Linked DNA regions of Homo sapiens: region 1 is linked to region 2. The links are contacts of gene promoters, found by promoter capture Hi-C in human tissues and cell types (Jung and others, 2019). All regions are on one chromosome and are shown on one strand. Each heading gives the region's core, a stretch centred on a gene start or on the middle of the fragment in contact. The rest is flanking DNA. Distances are from core to core; before and after follow the strand shown.

Evidence for each region. Contacts are between HindIII fragments. The study calls those that stand out against the background at their distance.
Region 1: a contact is called between a fragment that was not itself captured here and the fragment with the promoter of KCNN2 in region 2, in 2 of the 25 tissues and cell types used here (adrenal gland and hippocampus).

The regions. Positions count from the first base shown.
Region 1 is chr5:114,464,630-114,467,698 of GRCh38, forward strand. The region is part of intron 4 of KCNN2 (potassium calcium-activated channel subfamily N member 2); the gene reads left to right. All of the region lies in intron 11 of LOC101927078 (a long non-coding RNA gene), which reads right to left. Among named protein-coding and RNA genes, the nearest start is that of KCNN2, 100 kb to the left of the region's middle. The HindIII fragment of the contact is 3,136 bases long and covers 117-3,069 here.
Region 2 is chr5:114,360,335-114,363,364 of GRCh38, forward strand. It overlaps KCNN2 (potassium calcium-activated channel subfamily N member 2), which reads left to right and starts at 1,736. Exons shown (of 8, transcript NM_021614.4): 1 at 1,736-2,927. The coding sequence starts at 1,806. RefSeq lists an enhancer at 1-765 and a silencer at 804-1,013. The HindIII fragment of the contact is 16,034 bases long and covers 1-3,030 here.

The sequences.
Region 1 (3,069 bases), core at 435-2,934, 100 kb after region 2:
AGTGTTCAACTGGGATAAGGCAGCTAACTTTGAAAATAAGAATCCAGGGTCAATTTTAATGTCCCAGTAGTAACAAGATGGCCATTTCAAGTCCCAATTGTAGAAAATATAGTTTGGGGGCATAATTTAACATTATTTGCCTTTAAAAGAAAAATAATAGTTTTAATTATAGTGAACTTTAAAAAAAAAAACGGTATGCTGCATTATCTGTTTGTTTACTATTGGATCACTTCCCCTTTTTTCCTCAAATAATAGCATTTTATTATGTGGTATAATGCTTTGGGAAATGTAATTTGCATAGATTATTTTTAGGAGGCCCATAACAAGTCCACAAGGGATATAAATGATGCTATTTATAAAAACTAGTAATTGCAGAGTCTTTCCCCTAGTGCTTCTTAGAAACAACTTCCTTAGTGTTACTTTTTGTCAAGATGGTACCCTCTTTTATTCTCCAATCAGGTGTGACTCAAGGGTCATGTGCACAGGCTTATTTGCCATGGAATCTGAGCCAAATTTGAGGTTAACCTTGCCTGGGTTTTACAAAATGTTTATCGTTCCTTGATATTTTCTTGTTCCTCGTGTCTCAAAAACTGTTCCTTCAAAGTCTCATCAGATAGTACAAATCTTTTATTTACCTTCTTGAACTGCCTCTTGCTCAGGTTTCACTACTGATCTTACTTTGCTTAAAAAAGAGAGGTTATGGCCTGGCACTGTGTCCCACGCCTGTAATCCCAACACTTTGGGAGGCCGAGGCAGGTGGATCACCTGAGGTTGGGAGTTCGAGACCAACCTGACCAACATGGAGAAACCCCCTCTCTACTAAAAATACAGAATTAGCCAGGTGTGGTGGCACATGCCTATAATCCCAGCTATTCAGGAGGCTGAGGCAGGAGAATCTCTTGAACGTGGGAGGCGGAGGTTGCAGTGAGCCGAGATTGCGCCATGGCACTCTAGCCTGGGCAACAAGAGTGAAACTCCATCATCTCAAAAAAAAAAAAAGAGAGAGGTTATAGTACCATTAAATATATGTGGACACAAAAATGTTATATGTAATGGAATTTATGGTGACTTCGTTCCAGCCCTTAAGCTTATGGTAAAAGAGTCCCTCTATTCTTAGGCTGAGGAGCTCCATTCCCTCTCCTTCATAAGGATCAGACTTATTTCCTAATTAATTGACTTGATCAAAATTGGTTTACTTGCATACAGAGAAATTCACTAATATTTGAGTAACATATTTGAGATGCTCTGTAGAGTTGGATTATCTCTTCTTCTAGACTAAGCAGATTCCCATGGAGTCAGGCTACGGGGCAGTCTTCCTGGGATTCACTTCTGGCAGTTGATTACATCTTACATCAGCTCCTTAGGGATCAAGAGCATATGGATGAAAGTGACCTAGACACTCCTATGGAGAATGTAGAAATTTCTTCATTACCAAGACCAATATGGGAATTAAAGCTTAAGAGACCAAGATCTCTTATTATTATTTTTATAAAATAAGTCATGAGATTGCCTAATAGAAGAAATAAAAGAAAACCACTCACTACCCTTCAAGAGAAAACCATTATGGTTGTAATTACTTATTTTCTCTTTTTATTCTTCTACCCTTCTGCTATTTGAGGAAGTACTGAAGACCTGAGGGTTTACTATTGTAAAGGTCATGATAAACAATGGGATGATTTCTGAGTAGCTTTGTACTTTTGGTTGAAGATGGTAGGCAAGTAATATGGTTAGATCACAGTGTCTATCAGCTTTTGGACAGCACCAGCTAGTTTCTCAATGTCTCCAATTTTCCAATAAAGTAATTGTTTTACTTAGCATTTACAAAGTTATTTTATCTTCCTAGAAATATATATATATATATATAAAACACATCCTGAAAGCTATGAATTCTCCCACAACTATGAATATATATGATTGTTTCAAGAGTGAAAAATAGCCTTGTGGGTAAGGGTATCTTTCATCTTATACTGGAATTAAGGTTGCTCATTTGTTCTTTTTGCTTCTCTATTTCTGTAAAATTACAGTGACTCTTGGTGGCCTTTTGACTAGAGTATGGATGACTGGATTTTTTGGTTTAATTATCTTTAAATATCGAGTAATATCTGTTCATTCCTAGGGATGCAGGTTGTTATTCAATAAATGGTTCTCTAATAGTGATTTATAAACCACTAGACTTTGACAACATCTAGCATGACTCCCTCAACAAAACTGAGGACACTTCAGATATCAGTGATTTAGGTTTCTTCCATCCCACTAGTAGTTCTATGTAAACAAAAGCAATGCGTAAAGCTTTCGCAGTTCATAGCAATTTGAAAATCACTACGCTAATTAAATTTTAAAATTTTCTTCAAGGAGCAAAAAAACAAGTCAGTTCAGGACAGAAGCCTTTACACAGCCTTGCCTTTTCCTTAAGATTTGATAATAATCCTTTCCACGTTAAATTTGCCCTGTGCCGAGGAAATCTTAATTTAACATCACATGGTGACTCCATTAGTTGTCAGTTAAACAAACAGTTTGCATCCTGAAGAGCAAAAACACTACCCTGTTAAGTCGCTAAGAGGGTGTTCCAAAACAGCACGAATTAGCTAGAGCTCATAAAAAAGAAGTGATTGGTATGAAAGAATGCGAAACCTAAGGTCTGATTATACTCCTCTTCCTGTAACACTCTCTGTTTCCATTTGAGGATTTGTTTTCCCCCGCCAGTGTACATAGAAATCCTGCAAAACTGATCTGAAGCCATTCCTTAGTGTTGAATGTTTGAGAATGTGCAAAACACTCAAGGATTTTTAAAAATGTCTTACACAATTTGACATTGGGTGTTTAATTTTGAAGAGGTTTTAACTTTTGTATTGCTTGCTTTTTGGTTCTTTCTGGTGCGTTCACTGAATCTCATCAGATAAAGCCCCAGTGAAGAGAGTATATCTTTAAGTTCTTACATACAATAGTTTCTATTTTGTGCAGAGCAGCTGGAGGAGATGGGCCTTTTCAGTCATAAGGCTAAATTCCCCACCAATGTCCTTTCTTGAGGACCTTCACTTCCCACCAAGAAATTTCATAAGTGGATCGCAA
Region 2 (3,030 bases), core at 486-2,985:
AACTTTAGGGCAGCTGCCGAGTAGAATATCAAGAAATTGGATCCAGCTGAGAATTCCAATTACCTAATGACCTAATGAGGGTGATCCGCTTTCACTCTAATTGCTAGGTCTAACTCGTTGTAATAGTCTTTATCATGAAAAGCAGGCTTTAAAATAATTTAAAATGGAAACAAATATTCAACGGGCCAATTTCTTTCACCTTCTTTAGGGGGAGACGGGAATTTGAATTCACAAAGAAATGCAAATGTAAAGACTTAAGATGGAGCAGAAACAAAGAACATAAGGATCACCTAGTGCATTGTGTTGGTACATCTCTTAGAAGAAGACAGCACAGGGAATTTGTGAGACACCAAATGCAATTTTTGTTAGTTTATTAGAGAGTAAATAAATAAATAATGATACCGAACTCCAACAAAACTCCAGCACTGTCCGTGGGCAGCGACTATTCAGCCCAAGCTATCATTCTTAATTTCCCTGCCAGGCTGCGACTACCGGGGTGAATCAGCCCGCGCCAGGCCCCTTTCCCACCCGCCGCTGCAGTTAGGACTTGGCAAAGATGCTCGATATTTGCGTATTTGTGACCGGTCTTTGCTTTGTGTCTGCGCTGCAGGTGAGGAGGAGGAAGAGAAGCAGAAGAGCAGCTGGAGGCCGGCGGTGGCTGAGCAGCCCCCACACCTTTGAGCGAGCCGCCTGCCTCTCCACCGGCAAGGAAGCCCTGGGACCTCCGGATTCGGGCTGCCGGAGGGCCTGAGCGCCAGAGCCCAGGACCCGGCGGCCGGGGGCGCCATCCCCTCATGTTCTGGAGAAGGCGCAAATGTGAGCTGGCGGTAGCGGGGAAAGCCCTCCGCCCCCGCCAGGGGGGACCCGGGAAGCCCGGCCGGCTCTGTCGGCAGACTGCGGGGATCCCCTCCTCCGGCCCCGCCCCCACCCACCCCCGGCCGGGGTGCCGAGGCGGTTAACCCTACCCGCGCCGCAGCGCACTTGGGCTAGAGCGCCGCGCACCCAATCCAGATTCCAGAGCCTGCCGGCTGGGAAAGATCCGGTCTCGGGGTCGGCTATGATCCCGCAGCGGCCAAGGCAGGGCTCAGGCCCCGGGATTCTCCCCACACGCTGCTGCACTGGCGCAGCCGGTCGCCAAACTTTTTCTCCCCAAAGCCAGTGCCCCCGCAGTTACTTGGCGGGCAGCCGGCAGCCCACTCTCGGCGGGATGATCTGGGAGAAGCGGGCGTGGGACGAGGGGGCTGCTGTTTTGCAGCCCTGCGAGGCGTGCAGTCGGAGAAGTGGTCGGGGTTCCACACCGTCCCTGAGCCTGCCCCCGGCCAAGGTGGCCCGACGTGCTGCAGTGGCTGGCGCAGGTGATCCGGGCAGCGCGTCCGGCACTAGTCAAGGGGGCAGCGGCACGGGAGGGAGGGGCGCCTTTCTCTTTTCTCCTCCCCCTGCAGCCCAGCTGCACTGCGTGGGGGCTCTCCATCTCCACGCAATCAGCAGGCGGAATCCCTGCCCTGGAGCGCCCTGGCTCTGGACTGCACCCCCCTAGGGTTTGTCCTGCAGATTCCCCTCCCCATCTTTCTCTGCCACACACGCTTCCCTAAGCCGCGCGCGCCGCAAACTCAGTCTCGGTCCCCGCAGGTGATGTCATGCCCATTGTTTTGGTGCGCCCAACCAATCGGACTCGCCGCCTGGATTCTACCGGAGCCGGCATGGGCCCTTCCTCGCACCAGCAGCAGGAGTCCCCGCTCCCGACCATAACGCATTGCGCAGGGTGCACCACCGCTTGGTCTCCCTGCAGCTTTAACAGCCCTGACATGGAAACCCCATTGCAGTTCCAGCGCGGCTTCTTCCCAGAGCAGCCGCCGCCGCCGCCGCGCTCCTCACACCTGCATTGCCAGCAGCAGCAACAGAGCCAGGACAAGCCGTGCCCGCCCTTCGCGCCCCTCCCGCACCCTCACCACCACCCGCACCTCGCGCACCAGCAGCCGGCCAGCGGCGGCAGCAGCCCATGCCTCCGGTGCAACAGCTGCGCCTCCTCCGGTGCCCCGGCGGCGGGGGCGGGAGATAACCTGTCCCTGCTGCTCCGCACCTCCTCGCCCGGCGGCGCCTTCCGGACCCGCACCTCCTCGCCGCTGTCGGGCTCGTCCTGCTGCTGCTGCTGCTGCTCGTCGCGCCGGGGCAGCCAGCTCAATGTGAGCGAGCTGACGCCGTCCAGCCATGCCAGTGCGCTCCGGCAGCAGTACGCGCAGCAGTCCGCGCAGCAGTCGGCGTCCGCCTCCCAGTACCACCAGTGCCACAGCCTGCAGCCCGCCGCCAGCCCCACGGGCAGCCTCGGCAGTCTGGGCTCCGGGCCCCCGCTCTCGCACCACCACCACCACCCGCACCCGGCGCACCACCAGCACCACCAGCCCCAGGCGCGCCGCGAGAGCAACCCCTTCACCGAAATAGCCATGAGCAGCTGCAGGTACAACGGGGGCGTCATGCGGCCGCTCAGCAACTTGAGCGCGTCCCGCCGGAACCTGCACGAGATGGACTCAGAGGCGCAGCCCCTGCAGCCCCCCGCGTCTGTCGGAGGAGGTGGCGGCGCGTCCTCCCCGTCTGCAGCCGCTGCCGCCGCCGCCGCTGTTTCGTCCTCAGCCCCCGAGATCGTGGTGTCTAAGCCCGAGCACAACAACTCCAACAACCTGGCGCTCTATGGAACCGGCGGCGGAGGCAGCACTGGAGGAGGCGGCGGCGGTGGCGGGAGCGGGCACGGCAGCAGCAGTGGCACCAAGTCCAGCAAAAAGAAAAACCAGAACATCGGCTACAAGCTGGGCCACCGGCGCGCCCTGTTCGAAAAGCGCAAGCGGCTCAGCGACTACGCGCTCATCTTCGGCATGTTCGGCATCGTGGTCATGGTCATCGAGACCGAGCTGTCGTGGGGCGCCTACGACAAGGTACAGGCTTGAACCCCAGCCCACGCTACCGGAGTCGGGCACTGGGTGGTTGGGATGGGCACTGGCGGGGACCCTTTGCGTGCGGATCCCTAGCCTCTCCGGG